2 separate regions of the Homo sapiens genome follow, and region 2 is linked to region 1. Evidence: promoter capture Hi-C in 16 types of primary human blood cells and fetal thymus (Javierre and others, 2016). All regions are on one chromosome and are shown on one strand. Each heading gives the region's core, a stretch centred on a gene start or on the middle of the fragment in contact. The rest is flanking DNA. Distances are from core to core; before and after follow the strand shown. Region 1 holds the start of NUDT9 (nudix hydrolase 9). Region 2 overlaps PPM1K (protein phosphatase, Mg2+/Mn2+ dependent 1K).

Region 1 (7,338 bases), core at 4,799-7,298:
TTCAGTTAATAATATGCATTTAAGATTCCTCCATGTCTTTTCATGGCTTGATAGCTCATTTCTTCTTAGCACTAAATAATATAATATCCCATTGTCTGGATGTACCGCAGTTTATTTATCCATTTACCTACTGAAGAACATCTTGGTTGCTTCCAAGTTTTGGCAGTTATGAATAAAACTGCTATAAACATCTGTGTGCAGGTTTTTGTGTGGACATAAATTTTCAATTCATTTGGGTAAATACCAAAGAGTGTGATTGCTGAATTATAAGTGTTGAGTTCTGTAAGAAACTGACAAACTGTCAGTTGGATTTTTAACTGGTTTCATTCTTTCCTATTCTTGTGTGTCTACAGTTTTATATACTGTTCAAGCTGTTCTCTTTCATCACATTTAAAGACTCTGAAACAATTACTATTTCATTTTACACTCACTTTACATCTGCAAAGTGTGGTAAAACACCCAAAAATGAGGGAAAACCTAACTAATAAAGAAGTTAATATCCCCAGACGGGCTGAAAACTAGTGTAACGTGAGCGAGTATTTGATTTGTGACTAACTTTACTAAAAGCAGTAGGTTCATTCACTTTCATATTATGATTATGACAACTTTCTTGCCTCAGCTGCCACAGTTTAGGAAACCTACACAATGAATATTCTGAAAATAAAGTCTCCCTCACTCACCTTAAACCCATACTCAATAAAAAATGAATACATATATGAAACACATTTATCAAAATTAGCAAACAGACTTCAGGTGTTTTAAAAAGCAAAATTTTAACATATGGAACCCTAATCTCTAATTGAACCCTATCACAAAATGAGTTATGTTTCATGGTTTGGGAGTAGGGCAAGAAAAAAGTTAAGGCCATTAATTAAATACCAAACAGGAAACACTAATGCTGTTCCACTCCATCCCACCCACGTACCAAAAATGTTTAAATAACTTAAGGCTCTTTGTTCCCTGATTTAGCAATAAAATGTTTATGGAATTCCACAAATCTACCTACTTGACAAGACAGATTTACACACTGGATTATTTACTTTTCTAAAACAAATTTAATTGTGCAAAAATTCAGGCTATACATCTTATCACATCAAGAAGTGCTAACACTGCTATCTATATATGCTATTTAAATGTGATACACTGTAAGGTACCAGAAAAAAGAATACTTGTAATACACACATATACAGCCTTGACCTTTGTATTGTATTATTGAACAAGTGCAAGAAATATATTTGGCCTAGCAAATGGGAACTAAGTAGCTGATAAAGTCCATTTACATGGCAAAAACCAATTCTTAAGACTGGCAAACTTTTAAAAATGCAATACTGACGTGGTGCTTTGAAATAAAATCTGCAACAATCATTGTCATAATCACACCTAAATGTATATAGTGATTGCTATGTGCAAGACAGTGTTCTAAGCACTGTAAATTAACTCACTTGATCCTCACAACTGAGTTCAGGTACTTTTTTTTTTTTTAACTTTTTTTTTTTTTTTTGAGACAAGGCCTCACTCTGTTACCCAGGCTGGCATGCATTGGTACAATCATGGCTCACTGCAATCTCGACCTCCCAGGCTCAAGCAATCCTCCTACCTCAGCCTCCTGAGTAGGTGGGACTATAGGCATATGCTACCACACCTGGCTTTTTTTTTTTTTGGTTTAGTTTTTTGTTTTTTTTTTTGGCAAGGGAGTGGTTTGGTAAATCAGGTAGGCTGAGCGACTCCCAATTTTGTTTATTTTTTGTCAAGATGGGGTCTCACTCTATGTTGCCCAGGCTGGTCCTGAACTCCTAGGCTCAAGCAATCTTCCTGCCTCGGACTTCCAAAGTGCTGAGATTACAGGTGTGAGCCTCCACACCAGGCCATATTATCCTTTTTCAATTTTTTTTTTTATAAATAAGAACATTAAGGCCAGGCGCAGTGGCTCACGCCTGTAATCCCAGCACTTTGGGAGGCCGAGGCAGGCGATCGCAAGGTCAGGAGTTCAAGAACAGCCTGGCCAACACAGTGAAACCCCGTCTCTACTAAAAATACAAAAAAATTAGCTAGGCATGGTGGCAGACGCCTGTAATCCTAGCTACTCACTAGGCTGAGGCAGGAGAATCGCTTGAACCCTGGAGGCACAAGTTGCAGAGAGCCAAGATTACACCACTGCACACCAGCTGGGGCGACAGTGCGAGACTCTGTCTCAAAAAAAAAAAAGGAAATAAGAACATTAAGACCCAGAGAGGTAAATAAGTTTACCAAGGTCACACAATTGAGAGTAGAAATCAGGATCCAAACCTAGGCAAGCTGTCTTAGAATTCCAGGCTCTTAACACTATGTTTTACTATCTCTATTTCATTTTTGGTTCATTCATATGTTTTATGCATTCACAGGAATAAAACAATATTCTACACACATCACCAGTAGATCCTTCTGGAAGATTTGTATGTTGTGGTATGTAAAAGCATTCACTACATCTTTGTAATATACTACCTTTTTTCTAGAAAATGTACATTTGATGACTGGGAGCAGTGTCTCACACCTACAATCCCAGAACTTTAGGAGGCCAAGGCAGGAGGATCACTTGAGCCCAATAGTTTGAGACCAGCCTGGGCAACATAGGGAGACCCATCTCTACAAACAATAAATAAATTTTTAATTAGCCAGGCCTGGTAGTGCGCACCGGTAGTACCAGATACTCAGGATGCTGAGCTGGGACAATCACTGAGCCCAGGAGGTTGAGACTGCAGTGAGTCATGATCACACCACTGCACTCCAGCCTAGGTGACAGAGCAATTAAAAAAGAAAATGAACATTGGAAACCTTCTAGTAATCACAAAAACTAAGTGCAAAACTGTCACTTTCTGGGTTTTTCCAAATTATCAAAGACTGGTAAAATTCTTTTTTTTTTTTTTTTTTTCAAAGAGACAGGGTCTTGGCCAGGCGTGGGGGCTCACACCTGTATTCACCAGCACTTTGAGAGGCCAAGGCAGACAGATTGCCTGAGGTCAGGAGTTCGAAACCAGCCTGGCCAAAATGGTAAAACCCCATCTCTACTAAAAATATAAAACTTAGCCAGGCATGGTGATGGGCGCCTGTAATCCTAGCTACTAGGGAGGCTGGGGCAGGAGAATCACTAGAACCTGGGAGGCGGAGGTTGCAATGAGCCAAGATCACGCCACCGCACTCCAGCCTTGGCAACGAGAGCAAGACTCCATCTCAAAAAAAAAAAAAAAAAAAAGGAAAAGAACACTAGGGACACGGTCTTGCTGTGCCACTCAGGCTGGAATGCAGTGATGCGATCATAGCTTACCACAGCCTCAAACTCAACTCCTGAGCTCAAGCAATCCTACTGATCACTTAGTAGTCTCTGAGCCTACTCTGATCCTACTGATAGTGAGGACTACACATGCATGCCACCAGGCCCAGTTTTTTTTTTTTAGAGACAAGGGTCTTGCTAAGTTGCCTAGACTGGTCTCAAACTCCTGGCCTCACACGATCCTCCTGCCTCAGCCTTCCAAAGCACTGGGATTACAGGTGTTAGCCACTGTGCCTGGCCATAAAATTCTTTTTTTGTTTTTCTTGAGACATTGTATCACTCTGTCACCCAGAATGGAATGCAGTGGCATGATCTCAGCTCACTGCAACCTCCACCTCCCCGGTTCAAGCTATTCTGCCACATTAGTTACCAGGTACTTGGCACATTTGTTAACTGTTGGCTTTTTCTTTCAAGTCAGTACAGTCTCTGGTTCTGGATATACCTGCCTCATGTAGGGTTCCCAGAGTTACAAAAACGAAGAATAACTGTCAAGCAACTTTACACTGTTCTGCTGGCATCTAACAAAAAGAGCATTAGAGATTTCCAGAGAGCACACACGTGTATTCCTTCCTTCCTCAAATCCCACTAAAAGAAGATAAAGATAGATAAAGGGAAATAAAATCCGTACCAGGAGAAGGAATAAATGCCACCAGTGAATGACAGATGGTAACCAACTTCAGGAAAATGAAAAGTTGTTGGAATATTGACCTACAAACCAGAGTAGGACAAAGTAAAATAAGAATATGCACCAAGGCCGGGCGCGGTGGCTCACGCCTGTAATCCCAGCACTTTGGGAGGCCGAGACGGGCGGATCACGAGGTCAAGAGTTCAAGACCAGATCAGCCTAACCAAGATGGTGAAACCCTGTCTCTACTAAAAATACAAAAAAAATTAGCCGGGCGTGCGCGCGCCAGTAATCTCAGCTACTCAAGAGGCTGAGGCAGAAGAATCGCTTGAACCCAGGAGGCGGAAGTTGCAGTGAGCCGAGATCGCGCCACTGCGCTCCAGCCTGGGCGACAGAGCGAAACTCCTTCTCAAAAAAAAAAAAAAAAAAAAAAACGCATTAGGGAGAAATGCTATTCCTACAAGCTGAGCCGAGCTAGAGGTTTCAAGCTTGAAGTCAGTGGGCCCAAGGATCATAAACTGGCAGCGCGACAATAACCATGGAAATCACTCAGTCCTCCTCCCTCCCCAATCTCCAAGCAAAAAGTCCAAAATAGTTATGTTTGTCTCCAAGATAAAATCAAAAGTTTTTTAGAAATGAAGGGGTAGGACCCCTACTGTGAATACTGGTGTTAAGAGTACACAGCAGAAACTTAGGCTTAATAATTTTACAGTTCACACGGAGGAAATAAACAGCTATACTCAGCAGAGAAGTTGCTCCACCACTACTGCAAAGCCTGAAGCAAAAGGCAGGTTCCCAGTCTACCCATCTGGTACCTGCTCACATGCCCTCAACTGAAACCTTCCTATCTAGGCAACCTGGTACAGAGCCAAAAGTCAATTAGCGACCCATGTACTGAAAACAAGACCTATTACTCATATTAATCAAAATATAGACAGATAACCAGTGCCCATCACATGTTCGAGAAAAAGCAACAGAAGGAAACAGGACCAAAAAGACACAGAACAATTGACCAACAGTAAGTAAATTATTTAGGAAATAGATTTTTCTAATTATCATCTTTGTAGATTCAAGACTTTTAATATCTATAAAATAAGAAAAGGCTGCTGCACCTAGGACCCTGTGTTTACTAACTCAAAGAATAAAAACTGGAGAAGGGAAGAACAGAAGGAGGCAGTGTAAGACACCATAAATCCCTAAATTTAACCACAATAGACAAATTATTAAAAAAAAGGAGGTAGATAGTAAATATAATATATTGTCCACCCTGGAAAGGGGACAGGGGGAATAGTGATTTTACTTTTCATTTTACATTTTCAAGTTGTTTTAACTATGTACATGTATTAATACTAATAATAATGTTTTAAGTATTAACCATAAAAAAATGGCACGGGACACCACCACCCCAAACAATTGCTATTTAAACTCTCTCGTGATACTAACAATGATTTACAGAGAATGGCAAATTTCAAAATCAGAAGTCAAGAAGGGTCCCTGCCACTCGTTTTCCTCAAAAGGCAGATAAAATATTTTAGAGCCTTTTTGAAAACTTGTATATGACTATAAAAACCCGAGAGGCAAAGCAAAGCCTACAGAATACGCCAGAAAAAAAAGCTGCTTCCCACCCCCAACTCAAGGTCTAGGGCAAAGGAGCCGGTAGTAGGAGGGTGGAATACCTGAACGCCTGGATGCCGCGGCAGCGCGAGGACCTGATAGTCACAGAGGCCAAGGCCAGAGAGAGAGACACCGCGGCTAAAGCCTTTCCCAGGAGGCGTCCCGCCATGAGCGCCCCGAGGGCGGCTTTGCGATGCTAGGTCGCTCTTAGTTGGTGCCTCCGCCTCCCCACACCCCACAGCTCCGAGTCCCGGCCGCGGGTATCTGATGGGCACTAGGACCTGTCTGCCGTTGGGTTCCCGAACGGGAGTAGCTGTGCCTATCTATAAATCACAGATCAAGAGCCCTCCCACGATAAGAGTCCACCGCTTTCCCCAGTGCATCGAGAAAAATCCAGACCAGCACGTGACGCCGAAGCCTCCAGCGCCAGCTGCCTGGGGAAACCGCGGCCACGAACCTCGTAACTTTCTCTCTGCGTAATGGCGCTTTACGGCCGCGCCGCAAAGCAAAGGTCGTGCGTTGCCGGCTTGGTAGCGCCTTCCTTCTCCGACTTCCCAGACTTCCCAGTCTGCGCAGGCTTACTTGGGGACGCAGGGAACTACCAAGAAAGTGTCAGAGGAAAGGAAAGGTGAAACAGACGAGGAACTGGAACGGGAATAAGTGGGAAAGAAGCCAAGGGGTTTGAGAGAGACTTGCTGCCCTGGGTTTTTGGTTTTTGTTTTTTGAGACAAGAGTCTGGCTCTGTCGCCCAGGCTGCAGTGCAGGGGCGCGATTTCAGCTCATTGCCGCCTCAACCTCCTGGGCTTAAGCGAGTCTCTTGTCTCAGCCCCCGACGTAGCTGGGACTACAGGCACACACCGCCATACCTGGCTAATTTTTGTATGTTTTGTAGCGACAGATTTTTGCCATGTTGCCCAGGCTGGTCTCCAACTCTCAAGCTCAAATAATCCAACTGTTTGGGCCTCCCACAGTGCTGAGGTTACAGGCCTCAGCCAACGCGCCTGGCCCTGCTCTGGTTTTTTTAGGGAGTAAGTTGTTGCGGAAGGACGCAGGTCTTAGCCATATTTTTGAATAATACTTCGTTATGGGAATGAAACCGCCTTTGCAAAATTATGACTGATTTGGGAGGCCGAGGCGGGATCACTTGCAGTCAGGAGTTCAAGACCAGCCTGGCCAACGTGGTGAAACCTCGTCTCTACTAAAAATACAAAAATTAGCTGGGCATGGTGGTAAACGCGCCTGTAGTCCCAGCTGCTCAGGAGGATGAAGCAGGAGAATCGCTTGAACCCGGGAGGTGGAGGTTGCAGTGAGCCAACGTCGCACCACTGCACTCCACCCTGGGCGACAAGAGTGAAACTACGTATCAAAAAAAAAAAGAAAAAACCTCTGCTCCCTGAATGCTCAGGGAGACTGATTTGAGTAATAATAGAACTCCGGTCTCACACAGCTGGCTCTGCATGAATTACTCTTTCTCTATTGCAATTCCCCTGTCTTGATGAATCAGCTCTGTCTAGGAAGCGGGAAAGGTGAACCCCTTGGGCGGTTACAGCAAGAGGAGATAGTCCAGAGACTCAGCCCTCGTATCTTGAAGGGTTTCTTGGTTTTTTGTTTTTGTTTTCTTAACCAAGTTGTCTGCTCCAATTGCTGGATTTCATTCACAAGGCTTTGCTAGGACCAGTTGTGGCCCTTGGAAACTCGTGGAGGAGAAAAGCTGTGAAAATAGGCACACATGCTGGAGGAGGAACAGAGGGCAACACACATAATACTGGATAATAAACTTGAGAGGCAAAAA
Region 2 (5,884 bases), core at 3,385-5,884, 860 kb before region 1:
TCTCGCTAATAATTTTTTCTTGCAACCTTAGTCATTACTACTGATCACCCAGGCAAATTCCTTGACTGCAATCCTTAGAGACGAGGAAAGAAGAGAGGAGAGTGGCTGGTGACATAATAGACTGTGAAGGAAAGTTCTTAAAGGCATTATAAAGTTACAGGTTTGGGATATAGTCTGTGGCTTGTATGCATATTTACTAACGTGTCTTAAAAGATATCTATGGGAATAGAATACTGAGTACTTTTCACTGCTCACATTTCACACTTTTCTCCAGTCACACATCTGAACATAGACATATTCACATTAAACCTAAGGGGAGTCCTTTGGAGTTTTTATTGTTGTTTTCTTTTTTCCCCTCAGGTAAAGCAGTAAATTTTCTTTCCCTTCCTCCTAGCAGGGTATTGAGAAAGAAGGTATTGGGGTCCCAATTAGCTGAAATACATTCTGGAAATTTCCATACTATTTGAATTTACTGGGATGCCTTAATTGATTTTCTAAAAAGGTCGATAGGTAAATATTTGGTTTAAGAATATTTAAAAGGGCTGTGTTCTCATTGTGGAAGTTGTAGATACCTAAATGCCACTTCATAATGGGCAGATAGGAATGCTTTCTTAAAATATTTTTTCTAGAGGGATAAAATCTAAGCAGGTTTCAGAACTTTAGAACTCCTGAATAATTTTGGCATGTGCTTAAACTGCCCTTTTGACCTGCTTTTAACATACAAGAACAGTTTAACTCAAATCCAGTGCACCTTCCTGCCAGAGAAAGTGCTTTCCTTTTGGATGACTTGACTTCCAAAGATTGAATATAATGTTAAAATGGTTTATAAAAATAAACTAGCCATGTTTTCCGATCAAAAAATTGACCTAAATCTCCCCTGCTTACTTAAAAAGATTCCTTCTCTCTCTTAGTTTGTGGAATAATGAACTCATCCCAATTTTTAATTGCTGAACTGACAAAAGACAATCCTTAGGTGTTTGCTAGTTTGTTCTCCACTCTTTTTGTTTAGAGAACACTGATTGCTTTTTTTTTTTCCTTAAGGTTTTTGTTTTTCACATCACAAGTTCTACTCCCCTTGCCTTGCTGGTCAAAGCATAGTCATTCCCATGGGCATCGGCAGAGCTGTGGGGTCTATGATGGCAGATCCCAATTGTGGAGTTCTGGAGGAGGAAACTTTTCTTAATGTGCAGGTTTAATTCAAAGTTGTTATTTACTTTGGGAACTCCAGCTGCCTTTGAATTGTTTCTTAGGGAATATGGAGGGGATTGATATGATTTAGTTACATTGCAGATGGAAAAGGACATGGAGCCAGTTCGTAACATCTCGTTTACCTAAGCGATGCCGACCTGTTTGTTTGTTTTTTATAAACTAGCTATATATCTGGGTCACATTTCATCTCTGCCAATAATATGCCTTAAAGTAGGTGGTTTCCTATGACTGCCTGCTTTCTGAGATGATTATAGAAACAATACACGAGGAAGGATGCCAGGTTGATGATTGATTTTAAAATACGCAGGTTTTTAGCCTTACAGAAACTGCTCAATTTGCATTTTATCTCATTTCTTAAAAATGTTTCCAGTGGATATTTGTTCTCTGTGAGAATGCAGTTCTATTTTATTATTTAAAAAAAAATTGGGGGGAGGATAAAGAGGAGATAAAACGGCAAGAATATACTAGAACAGTTGCAGAAAAACTTCAATATTTATTTATTTGTAATTCCAGAACTCTGATTTAAAGTAGGTGCATGACTGCAAAGTAGCTCAAGGCTGAATATGGCATATATACTTTCAGACCGAAGCCAAAAGAATAGTATTTTGCTAATCTCAAGTTAACTCTTCAAATACAAATATTTTCTAATAATTGTATTTCTTTAAAGTTCTTTTTTTTTTCTATATGATATAAAGCTGCTTTGGGAATTATCTCCAAATAATTAGTACTTCCATTACCTGGTAGATTGTATTGTAGTTTGAAGTCTCAATTCATCACCTATAATTAACATAATTGGGTTTTTAAATTTTTTTTAACACACCATTGCTGGCTTGAATCCATAATTGTTGCTGAATAAAATCTAACTCTCAATTAGAAGCAAAAGAACAAACATCTCTTGCAATGGAATGTGTTATTTCTCTCTCTCGCTCTCTCTCTCTTTTTTTAAATAGACAATGTCTTGCTCCATTGCTCAGGCTGGAGTGCAGTGGTGTGATCTTAGCTCACTGCAGCCTCTGCCTCCCAGGCTCAAGCAATCTGTCCACCTCATTTTTGTACTTTTTGTAGAGACAGGGTTTCACCATGTTGCCCAGGGTAGTCTCAAACTCCTGGGCTCAAGCAGTCCTCCCACCTCAGCCCCCTTAGTAGCTGGAACTACAGGCATGCGGAACCACGCCTGACTAATTTTTGTATTTTTAGTGGAGACAGGGTTTTGCAAAGTTGCCCACTGGTCTCCAACTCTTGGCCTCAAGTGATTTGCCTACCTCGGCCTCTCAAAGTGCTGGGATTACAAGTGTGAGCCACCGGGTCCGGCCATGTTAATTCTCTTTGATAACCAGAGATGCTGTGTCTCTGCCACTCTCCAACCCCCCAACAATGTTGTCTTACGAAGAAATGAATTTCAGCCTTCTATGCAGGATCTTGGCCAAAAGGCCAAGAAGGGATGACTTCCTAAGTCTTTGATGATACATTACTTGTTTTGGTGGCCATCTTTATTCTAAATTCTGTGACAGCAGAGCTCATATTTTTTTTAATTGCTTAAATATCTAAAGATTGAGGCCAGTCTCTGTGGCGCATGCCTGTAATTCCAATACTTTGGGAGGCTGAGGTGGGAGGATCACTTGAAGCCAGGAGTTCAAGAGCAGACTGGGCAACAAAGTGAGAACCCATATCTACAAGAAATTAAAACAAATAAACACCTAAGGATGTTCTTTGGAACCTCATTCTTTCTTTTGACTGTTTTACCCACCGAAAGAAGTAATGGCCTTCCCTATACATAGCTAGACTGATTTCCAAAAATTCATTGGAAAGTAATTGTTTGAAATCTGTAGTGCATTTTCTCATAACTGCACTCAAGCTGGGTTTCATTTGTGTATGTTTATACCTTTTGGAAAGATACATTTTTTCAAGTTCATTTTTTATTGTGAAATAATTTAAACATAAGATTGAGAATAATATACTATCTGTAGACCATCCACCAACATCATCAAACCTTAGTATTCTGCCATCTTTTCAAGTTGATTTTAAAAGAATAAAGTAATAGAACAAAATCCTATGGAGACAAATTTTTTATTTGTGTGGAAAATTCCCAGAAACAGCTCTACCTGCAGTGGGGTAGGAGTTCCCCTGGGTAACACCCTGTAATGCCAAGAGAGGTTTTAGGATTGAGTTTCAGGGTGGAGTCCAGAAATGGGGGTGTAAAGTAATCGTTTCAAAGAAGTGTAGTCTCAAGTGTCGTTGGGTTGTTAGGGTTGGGGAAAGGAGAGCTGCAGCTGTGAATGTAAATATATAGATCACTCGTTCAGAAATCAGGGCTGCTTGTCACAAATGCAGTGCTGCCAGGTTCCTGAGATCATACCCACATACCCTCCTAGTGAGAGAGTCTGCTAGGATGGGGAGCATCAAAACTGGCTTATCTTTGTGCCTCTGGGGTGTTTGCACACCAATTTATATTTACCATAGTAATATAGTATGTAAAGCTTAGTAGGTTAAGAAATGTTAAAATAAAACTTAGATTTATCCTAGATTATGTTTTTGTTAAAACTTGGCCATTCTTTGGAAACAGAACTATTTTAAGTATTCTATTAGCCTGTTATTTTTTCCTGAAGAGACTTTGTTGCTATTGTTAATATTTATCCCTACCTTTTCTTTAAAGCAATAGAGTTAATGAAGGGAAGTATATTTATTTATACCTGTATTCTGTGTTCTTGCTACTAGAAGTGTAACTTGGGGACCAGCAGCTTCTGTATCACCAGGGTGTTGGTTAGAAATGCAGAGTGACTCCACCCCATAGCCACTGGGTCAGAACATGCATTTTAACAAGTGATTGCAGGTTCAAGTTTAAGAGATACATGTTCTGTGTATGTGCACACTGTTAAATTTTTATAGAATTTAAATGCTGTGAATGCGGTAGGAAAATCGATTCATTTTTGATCCACTGTTCTTAGAAGCAGGCTACTGGATGCCTACCCAATATATAACATAAATATATGTATTTTCTGTCAAATCCTTTATGAGCTTCATTTTTGGTAATATTTGATGACATATCAGTTATATTCAAAATTTCTGATGGTCTCTCTCTCTCTGTCTCTCTCCCTCTCCTCCTCTGCCCCTCTCTCCCTCTGTCCCCTGTGACTTGCATCATTTTTCTTGAAGACATTCCATTATTGTTCCATTGACCTTTCCCTCATCACTGAGTCCTTTGGAGCTGAGTTATGTCAACAGCTGCCTTAATTACTTTGGTCAGAAGTGGTGGGAACCAGGTGAGAAGGAGAGTGCTGCTAAGCTCCCGCCTGCTGCAGGACGACAGGCGGGTGACACCCACGTGCCACAGCTCCACTTCAGAGCCTAGGTGTTCTCGGTTTGACCCAGATGGTAGTGGGAGTCCAGCTACCTGGGACAATTTTGGGATCTGGGATAACCGCATTGATGAGCCAATTCTGCTGCCACCCAGCATTAAGTATGGCAAGCCAATTCCCAAAATCAGCTTGGAAAATGTGGGGTGCGCCTCACAGATTGGCAAACGGAAAGAGAATGAAGATCGGTTTGACTTCGCTCAGCTGACAGATGAGGTCCTGTACTTTGCAGTGTATGATGGACACGGTGGACCTGCAGCAGCTGATTTCTGTCATACCCACATGGAGAAATGTATTATGTATGTACAATGACTTTCACTCCTGACTTTGCAGTTCCTATACTTCCTACTTAAACTTTCACCCTTTGGCTGAGGCTTCCAGCGTAAACATAGTTACTTGAGTGGTTGCATGCTGCTGCTTCACGAATGAGCAGTAGTTTAAGTGTGCCATTTATTACTTATGGTTATCACAATTTCAGAAATGCATGTTTTAACAACTCCCCTGGGGAAAGCATTAACCAAAATCTATAGCACTTAATTTGTGATCATTTTAAGTGAAGTGGCATAATGTACATGAGATAACCTATGAGAAGCATTTACTCCCATCAGTGTAGGACAGATAAGTGCTTCAGTAAATGGTAATTACTCTTTCAAGTGGTGTGAATAGCTTTGAATACCTGACTTGTTGAAAATAGCTTTGGATGATTGGCATTAGTGTGGAAAAATGCATTTAATGCAGGCATTTTGGAGCTCTTCCGTTTATTTACTTCAACTAGTATTAATGCATTTTTGAGGATCACATTACTGCTAAAATTGAAAGAGGGAGAACATGTGATGGAGTTACGACCATGTGACTATTTTTGACTTCCCAGTGACCATTTCTTGACTTCCTGTGTATACCGCATTCCACGAAAGAACTCACAATGGGAAGGAACTCTCGACCTCTCAGGGTTGTGGTAGTGAGGATCAATTCTTCAAGGACAAGGACTTGGACTTTCATTGTTGTGCCCTTAAAAGCTTATCACAGTGCCTGATACTTTGTGGATTCTCAATAGGTATTCCTTAGCCAGTAGGTCTTCAGCATTTGACAGGAAAATCCTGAGGCCCGTTGTGTGGAATGACTGCTAGCTAGAGTAACAGTGAGGAGAAAAACCTATTGTAAAATGATTGTTTAAGGCTCTTTTTTTCCTCCCCACAAAGGGATTTGCTTCCTAAGGAGAAGAACTTGGAAACTCTGTTGACCTTGGCTTTTCTAGAAATAGATAAAGCCTTTTCGAGTCATGCCCGCCTGTCTGCTGATGGTATGTAAAACTATCACATTCC

What was found. Contacts are between HindIII fragments. The CHiCAGO score rates a contact against its expected background, and 5 or more counts as called.
Region 2: a contact is called between a fragment that was not itself captured here and the fragment with the promoter of NUDT9 in region 1, in 1 of 17 cell types (fetal thymus). The highest score is 5.3, in fetal thymus.

Annotation. Positions count from the first base shown.
Region 1 is chr4:87,421,283-87,428,620 of GRCh38, reverse strand. NUDT9 (nudix hydrolase 9) reads right to left here and starts at 6,048. Exons shown (of 8, transcript NM_024047.5): 1 at 5,609-6,048. The coding sequence starts at 5,715. RefSeq lists enhancers at 3,677-4,178, 4,179-4,682, 5,226-6,160, 6,230-6,279. The HindIII fragment of the contact is 3,809 bases long and covers 4,423-7,338 here.
Region 2 is chr4:88,277,121-88,283,004 of GRCh38, reverse strand. PPM1K (protein phosphatase, Mg2+/Mn2+ dependent 1K) reads left to right here. Exons shown (of 7, transcript NM_152542.5): 2 at 4,363-4,861; 3 at 5,762-5,862. The coding sequence starts at 4,422. Among named protein-coding and RNA genes, the nearest start is that of PPM1K, 4.5 kb to the left of the region's middle. The HindIII fragment of the contact is 1,892 bases long and covers 3,689-5,580 here.